Linked DNA regions of Homo sapiens: regions 1 and 2 are each linked to region 3. The links are contacts of gene promoters, found by promoter capture Hi-C in blood cells and fetal thymus (Javierre and others, 2016). All regions are on one chromosome and are shown on one strand. The core of a region is centred on a gene start or on the middle of the fragment in contact, and the rest is flanking DNA. Distances in the headings are between cores, read along the strand shown. Region 1 overlaps XRCC1 (X-ray repair cross complementing 1). Region 2 overlaps XRCC1 (X-ray repair cross complementing 1). Region 3 holds the start of IRGC (immunity related GTPase cinema).

Evidence for each region. Contacts are between HindIII fragments. The CHiCAGO score rates a contact against its expected background, and 5 or more counts as called.
Region 1: a fragment that was not itself captured here is called in contact with the fragment with the promoter of IRGC in region 3 in 3 of 17 cell types (neutrophils, monocytes and activated CD4 T cells); the score reaches 7.0 in neutrophils.
Region 2: a contact is called between a fragment that was not itself captured here and the fragment with the promoter of IRGC in region 3, in 1 of 17 cell types (neutrophils). The highest score is 5.1, in neutrophils.

The regions. Positions count from the first base shown.
Region 1 is chr19:43,541,650-43,544,349 of GRCh38, reverse strand. XRCC1 (X-ray repair cross complementing 1) reads left to right here. Exons shown (of 17, transcript NM_006297.3): 15 at 116-206; 16 at 663-738; 17 at 845-1,039. The coding sequence ends at 958. Among named protein-coding and RNA genes, the nearest start is that of ZNF575, 9.8 kb to the right of the region's middle. The HindIII fragment of the contact is 7,833 bases long and covers 1-2,700 here.
Region 2 is chr19:43,570,820-43,573,519 of GRCh38, reverse strand. The region is part of intron 2 of XRCC1 (X-ray repair cross complementing 1); the gene reads left to right. Among named protein-coding and RNA genes, the nearest start is that of XRCC1, 3.4 kb to the left of the region's middle. The HindIII fragment of the contact is 6,228 bases long and covers 1-2,700 here.
Region 3 is chr19:43,714,688-43,717,387 of GRCh38, reverse strand. IRGC (immunity related GTPase cinema) reads right to left here and starts at 1,312. Exons shown (of 2, transcript NM_019612.4): 1 at 1,246-1,312. RefSeq lists an enhancer at 839-1,339. The HindIII fragment of the contact is 15,065 bases long and covers 1-2,700 here.

The DNA of each region.
Region 1 (2,700 bases), core at 124-2,623, 170 kb after region 3:
CTGCCCACATGTGGACAGCCCTCTCCTCAGCTGCTGGGTCAGCCTCGTCACTCCTGTTTGGTGCCTGGGAACTCCTGGGGCCTCATGCTTACCTTAGCCCCCTTCTCTCCTGCAGATTTCTTCCAGGGCAAGCACTTCTTTCTTTACGGGGAGTTCCCTGGGGACGAGCGGCGGAAACTCATCCGATACGTCACAGCCTTCAATGGGTGAGTCTCCAGGGACTGGGGTGGGGAAGGGGTGATGGATCCAAGGGAACGCTCAGGGACCTGCTGGGAGGGGTGGGGGTGTGGGAAAGAAGACCATCAGGAGGATGGAGAAGGGCCATGCCCAGCAGGTGGGCACAGGTCATGGAATCCGAATGCTAGCTTGCCCACCACCGGCAGCCCAGGGTGCATTGCTTGCCTCAGTTTCCTCTTCTGTATGGCGAGGATCCCTACCCCTACCCCTGCTTCTGAAAGGGACAGCCTGAGGATTAGCCACTGTGGGAGCTCTGGTCATTGTGGCTGTGGCAAGATGGATACATGAAAGAATGGAGCCTAGAGGCAACCTAGAGGCGCATAGGTGGGGACAGTGTGGGGACAGCCATTGAGAGTGGCTGGGGAGTAGGACGTCAGTGCTGATTCCCTGATGTGCCTTCTACCTCTTTTCTTCTCTCCCGCCAGGGAGCTCGAGGACTATATGAGTGACCGGGTTCAGTTTGTGATCACAGCACAGGAATGGGATCCCAGCTTTGAGGAGGTGAGTACCAAAGAGGCAGAGAATGGGAGACCCGGGCACACCTTTGCATCTCCTCCGTCCTCCCCTCGATGACACATTCCCGTATGGACTCCACCCCACCCTGCAGGCCCTGATGGACAACCCCTCCCTGGCATTCGTTCGTCCCCGATGGATCTACAGTTGCAATGAGAAGCAGAAGTTACTTCCTCACCAGCTCTATGGGGTGGTGCCGCAAGCCTGAAGTATGTGCTATACACACACACACACACACACACACACACACACACACACGATGCATTTAATAAAGATGAGTTGGTTCTCATCCAAGAGTCTCCCAAAACTCTAAGAGGCTCCCTGGGACCTGGGGAAGAATGCTGGGCACCTCCGTCAGAGATCTGGTAGAGAAGGAACTCTTTGTCTCTTCTGCTTGGCCCCTTATCCCTGTGTTGGCAAGAGGCAGGGAACTGGGAATCTGACCCTCAGCACTGCCCCTCAACTTTTTCTGGCCCTCTGAGCCACACCTGTATCTTGGCTGTCCCTTTGTGGCTGGAGGCCTGGGTACCCATGAGGCTTGTCTCTCTCCTGAAGCCTCAGCGTCCCCAGGCCAGGGATAGTGCCTTTCCTCCAGGGTTTTCAGAAGTAGCTGTATAATGAATGTCACCACTGTGGTTTTACATCACCTAATTTAGGAGGTAGAATGGGAGGAAGGGACATTTTAAGCAACCTACCCAAACCCTGCACCCCCTTCAAGGCTCCACCACATTTAAGTGGGAATTGAGGTGATTGTGAGGGAATCAGGGCAGAGGATGGGATGGTGCTCTAGGCAGAGGCCATAGCATGGGCCAGGAGGTGGGAAGCAGCCTGAGGCAGGCAGAAGAGCATTGCTGCCTTTGGCAAAGAGGCTTTGGGGGCAGATTTAGAAAGCCAGGCACAGTCCTTGCAGCTCTGCTGTCCAGTGTGATCACCACTGGGTACAGGTGGCTATTTAAATTAATTAAAATGAAATGAAATGAAATGTAAACTTCACTTCCATAGTCACACTGGCCATGCATTTCAATTGCTCAGTGGCTATTGTATTAGGCAGTACAGAGAACATTTGCATCAGTCTAGAAAGGTCTTTTGGACAGGGCTGGCCTGAAGGTCTGCGAACTCCAGGCTGAGAAGCCTGGACTTTAATCTGAGGGTGGGAAGGTTGGGAGGGGGTTTGAGCAGGACAGAGGCCAGGGTCAGAGGTAGGTTTGAGATCTGACCTTTGGGTAACCTTTTATTGGACATTCCAAGCCCTTTCCCAACTTTTGCCTCATCAACCAAGGGCTACCAGTCTCACTCCTGTCTCTTTCTGGACCTTTGTTTTTGCATCTTTAAGATGAGGGTGGTTTATTATTATTATTATTATTATTATTATTATTATTATTATTAGAGACAGGGTCTTGCTCTGTTGCCCAGGCTGAAGTGCAGTGGTGCAATCATTGTTCACTCCAGCCTCGAACTCCTGGGCCCAAGCGATCCTCCTGCTTCAGCCTCCTGAGCAGCTGGGACTATAGGCATGTACCACCACACCTGATAAATTTTCTATTTTTTGTAGAGATGGGCTCTCACTATGTTGCCCAGGCTGGCCTCGAACTTCTGGCCTCAAGCAGTCTTCCCGCCTTGGCCTCCTAAAGTGCTGGGATTACAGGTGTTGAGCCACACTGCCCAGCTAAGGGTGGCTTTAGACTTCATGTTCACTCATTCGTTTGCTCATTCACACTCCCACCGATAACTCACCATGTTAGTTTTGTACTACTGCTATAACAAATTATCACAAGCTCAGTGGCTTAAAATAATAGAAATTTATGATCTTACAGGTTTGGAGGTCTGAAGTCCAAAATGGGTATCCTTGGGCTAAAAATCAAGGTAGGCAGGGCTGCGTTCCTTCTGGAGGCTTGAGGGGAGAATCTGTTTTCTTGTCTTTTCCAGCTTCTAGAAGCCACCCACATTCCA
Region 2 (2,700 bases), core at 184-2,683, 140 kb after region 3:
TTTTGTGAATGGGCAGTCATTCAGCAAATATCCACTCCTCTCCCTCCCACTGGAGGGGGAGTATATTTCCCTGCTCCATTGATGAGTTTGACCATATGATTTACTTAATGGAATTTCAGCACATCTAACTTCAGCAAGGGCCTTAAATGCACTTGGCTTTTGTGCTCCCATAATATGCCATGAGAACATTTGCCAGGTTACTGCTAATCCCAGAAAACTGTGGAATCTCATGGAAGAGACCTGAATCCTCCCAAACTGCAGCCAAAGCAGCCATCCCACAAATTCTTATAAGAATGCTTGTTGGTATAAGTCTCAGTTTTCATGTTGGGAGGTCGAGGTGGGTGAATCGCTTGAACCCAGGAGTTTGAGACCAGCCTGGGTAACATGGGGAAACCCTATCTCTACGAAAAATTATAAAAAATAGCTGGGCTTGGTGGCGTATGCCTGTAGTCCCAGCTACCAGGGAGGCTGAGCGGGGAGGATTGATTGAGCCCATAAGGTTGAAGCTGCAGTGAACTGTGATGGTTTCACTGCACTCCGGCCTGTGAGACAGAGTGAGACTGTATCTCAAAAAAAAAAAAAAAAAAAAAAAGAAAAGATCTCAGTTTTAGGATGATTTGTTACACAGCATTATTACAGTGTAAGTTAATACAACTTGGTTGTTTTAAACCACTGAGATTAGGGACTCCTTTGTTACTGTAACATCATCTGGTCCACCCCAATTGATGTCAGTGTTTAGTGCCTGTCAACTAATGGCCTCCACTTCCCAGGTTCAAATGATTCTCATGCCTCAGCCTTCTGAGTAGTTGGAATTTACATGCCTGGCTAATTTTTGTATTTATAATAGAGACCGAGTTTTGCCATGTTGGCTAGGCTGGTCTTGAACTCCTGACCTCAGGAGTTCAAGGCAAATGAGCACCAAATGCTAATTTAAGTGATCCACCCACCTTGGCCTCCCAAAATGTTGGGATTACAGGCATGAGCCACTGCACCTGACCTCAGTCTTTTAAACTGTGATAGATACAGATTGCTGACAGTTTTAGTCTTGAGATCTAGATTCAAGCCCCCAGCTCTTCCTCTTAATCGGTGACCTCAAGAAAATTGTTTCATTTCTCTAACCTGTTTTCTCATGTGTCCATTGGGAATAATGACATCCAAGCCCGGAGTTGTGAAAATTCGGTGACATAATGTCTGCACAAGTGCTCTGTCAACATGTAGGTGTTTGTGTAGAGGGAGGGATTTGTGTTTTTATTACTTAGTGGGTGATGATTCCACTGGGCTCTCTTATGATCAAGTGACTCCAGGGAAATCACATTTCATTCTGTTACCCCAGTTGCTGTGGAAACAGAGTGACTGGAGGCAGAAGAGACAGAACCTGTCTCTGGCCTGGGAGAGACTGAGGGAGTATTGCAGCGGTCACCAACATGGTAAACCCCAGAGGGAGCAGCTTGGGGAGGTGATGTGTTTCAGTTGGGATGTCCAGGTTTGATGTGACTTTGGGACATTCTAGGGGTGGCATCCAGGAGGCAGTTGGGGATCACATGTGGAGCTGAAGACAGAATGTGGGGAAGTTGTCAGTGCAGAGAAAGAACCTATAGACTCGGGAGTAGATGATGGATTTATTTGTTCATTCACTCATTTATTTAGTCAAGTATTTATTAAGTGCCTTCTGTAGGCCAAGCACTGTTTTAATACAGCAGTACACAGCAGAAGACAAAAAATATTCACTCTCAGTGGGGTGCAGTAAGCTCACGCCTATAATCCCAGCACTTTGGGAGGCCAAGGCCTGGCAGTTCGAGACCAGCTTGGGCAACACAGGGAAACTTCATCTCTACTAAAAATACAAAAATCTGCCAAGCGTGGTGGCCTATGCCTGTGGTCCCAGCTACTCCAGAGGCTGAGGCGGGAGGATCACTTGAGCCTGGAAGATCAAGGCTGTAGTGAGCTATGATCGCACCATTGCGCTCCAGCCTGGGCAACAGAATGAGATGCTGTCTCTTAAAAACAAAAGAAATTCAGTCTTGTGGAGCTTTCACGTTAGTAGGGAAAGACTGACAAATGAGTCAGTGAAACATATGTTGGATGATGAGTGCTATGGAGGAACTTAATGAAGGGGAATGAGAGTGCCCCAGCTGGAGCTGGAGCAGTGGCAAGGATTTTTATTTAAATAGTAGGGTCCGGGAAGGCCTCCCTGAAAAGGGGACATTTGAGCAACATGAGCTATGTATGTATCTAGGGAAAAGACTCTGAAGCTGGCTTGTGACAGCAAGGAGGCCAGTATGGCTGGGGTGGAGTCAGCCAGGGGGAGAGAGGTAGGAGATGAGGTAACAGGGTGGGACTGGGAACCCCTAAAAAACCACTTAAGGCCTGGAAAGCCATTGAAAGGACTTGAGCTTTTACTCCAGGTGTGAGATAGGAGCCACCGGAGGGCTCCGAGCAGAGGAGGGACAGGATCTGCCTTAGGCCTTCACAGGATCCTGCTGGCTCCATGTTGACAATCAACTGCAGGGGCCACACACAGGAGTGGGAGATCAGCATTGCAGCAGTTGTTTTGTTAACTTACTCCACGTCAGAGACCCTTTGGAATGACTGATTGCATCTGGCAATGACTAATTTGTGGGGTTACTCTGGATTCATCAAATGCTAATTTTGATTCTTTTGACGTAACTGATAAAGGCAGACATTTCTGGCCACCAAGGC
Region 3 (2,700 bases), core at 63-2,562:
TGCCTCGTGTCATTGGCATCACCATCATCGTCATTATTCTTATCATTAGTAATATTCTTAGCTGTGTGACTTTGAGCAAGTCCTCGCCCTGTCTGAGCCTCAGCTGCCCCGTGGGGGATACTCCTCCCCACCTCGCAGGGCTGCTGTGATGCCCACAAACCCCGTTCAGCTAGCCCTAGGCTGACTTTGGGTTCAGACGCCCTTGGGTTCGGGAAGCCAGACATGGGGACCACCTGGACACCAGGAGTCATTTCCATGAAACCCCACCCCTGCCATGGCAGCCCTTGCCTCCCGGGGTTCAGTTCCCCTCCCACCGCCCAGAGCTCCTGTCGTGATGGTCCCCCCTCAGATCCCTCCTCCTCACCAGGAGCTTCCCTGGTCCTCCCTCTTCCCACTCACCCTCCTCTGGCCCATCATCTCTAAAATACATTTACTCACTAAGGGTCTTCAGGGTGCCCTGGGAGAGCTGCTCATGTCTGGGATCACTGTCCCCATTTGACAGGGAGAAGGACTGAGGCTCAGACAAGACAAATGAGGTCTCCTCATCCAGAGGCATAGCCAGGACCCCAACCCAGGTCCCCAGGCTCCTTCACCCACCTAGAGAGCTACTCTCCCTTCAGCTGCATGTCCCTGCCTCCTGCATTGTCTCCTTGCCCCCTGCACCCCGTCTCTTCACCTCCTACCACTCACCCCATCCTCTGCTACCCCACTCCACCCCCCACAGAAATATGTCCTTAAGACATTGTTCCCGGCTGGGCATGGTGGCTCACGCCTGTAATCCTAGCACTTTGGGAGGCCGAGGTGGGTGGATCACTTGAGGTCAGGAGTTCGAGACCAGCCTGGCCAACATGGTGAAACTCCATCTCCACTAAAAATACAAAAATTAGCCAGGTGTTGTGGCGCATGCCTGTAGTCCCAGCTCTTGAACCCAGGAGGCGGAGGTTGCAGTGAGCCAAGATTGCACCACTGCACTCCAGCCTGGGCGACAGAGCGAGACTCCGTCTCAGAAAAAAAAAAAGGAAAAAAAAAAGACATTGTTGCCTCCAGATCTGAGCCTCCTATCCTGGGTGTGCCCTCTCCCTAGTATGGTCTGCGGTGGGAAGAGTAGGAACCTGGAACAGGTCCTGGCAGCAAGGGGCAGACAAGTCAGTGGTTGGAATTTGGGCTGAGGGGGTCCGGATTAGACCATAAGCTCCTGCTCCGCCCACGCACAGGGGCCCAGCGAGAGAGCCCTGGGGGACTCACCTGCCCTGCAGGCTCTCCCTCTCCCCTCACACTCTCCCCACTGATAGGATCTCCTTCCCTCTTAGCCAAGGTCAGACACCGTTGCTAGGACCCATTATCATAGCAAGCAGCAGCTTATTGGTCAGCCAGACCTGGTGCAATAATGCGACAGTGATGTCAGGGGGTGGGGCCCGGAGGTGGAGCAGGGACCCCAAGCCCCAGCTGCTCATGGGGTCACCACCCACTCACACTGGGCCCTCCAGTTCCCCTGAAGACTCCAGAGAGATCTTTCTAACACCAAGACCTGTTCAAAATCCTCCATGGTCTCCATCACCCCCCAAGGACAAAGTCTCAGATTCACAGATTGGTTTCCAAGGGCTTGGCCCTGCTACCACTCCACCCTCCACCCAGGGGACTGTCAGTTCCCCAGAGAAGTGTGAAAGTTGATGATACAAATTCGGTCATTGCTGGTGGGCACAGTGGCTCACGCCTGTAATGCCAGCACTTTGGGAGGCCGAGGCGAGTGCATCACTTGAGGCCAGGAGTTTGAGATCAGCCTGGGCAATGTGGTGAAACTCCATCTCTACTAAAAATACAAAAATTAGCCAGATGTGGTGCATGCATGTAGTCCCAGCTACTCGGGAGGCTGATCTGCTATCTTGTAAGCCCAATAATTTAGTCATTGATTTCTTTTTTTTCTTTTTTTGAAACAGTGTCTTGCTCTGTCACCCAGGCTGGAGTGCAGTGACACAATCTTGGCTCACTGCAACCTCCGCCTCCTGGGTTCAAGTGATTCTCCTGCTTCAGCCTCCTGAGTAGCTGGGACTACTAGCATGCACCACCAGGCTTGGCTAATTTTTTTTTTTTTTTTTTTTTTTTAGTAGAGGTGGGGTTTCACCATGTTGCCTAGGCTGGTCTTGAACTCCTGACCTCAGGTTATCCGCCTGCCTCGCCTCCCAAACCTCCTGACCTCAGGTTATGCCGCCTCCCAAAGCGCTAAGATTACAGGTGTAGCCACTACACCCGGCCCCTTCTTGTCCTTTATAAGTGTCTCTGTCCTGTCTCCCCTCCGGGCTTCCTCTCTGCCCAGGCCAGGCTCCACAGGGCCTTCTCCATTCTCCTCTTGTAGGGAATTTACAATAACGCTACTCAGAGGATTTTCCTGACCATCTGCAGGCCAGTTCTGGAAAGGAGCCTCTGAGAACAACTAAGGAGAGAGAGGCCCAGAAGGGGAATAGACTAGCTCAGAGCCACCCTGAGAGCTGGGGAAGAGTGGGCTGTTGGCCGCATAGTACAGAGTTCTTAAGCCACAGGTGAAAGGGAGGTGCAGGGCAAAAGACACACGACTCACTCATGCTCTCACTGACTGACACAAACACACAGAGCTGAAGAGAGTGAACAACATGGTTCTCAGACTTCCCCGGACACCGAGCACACAGACCAGCAGACAGCAAGGACTCCTTCCCAAAATGCATG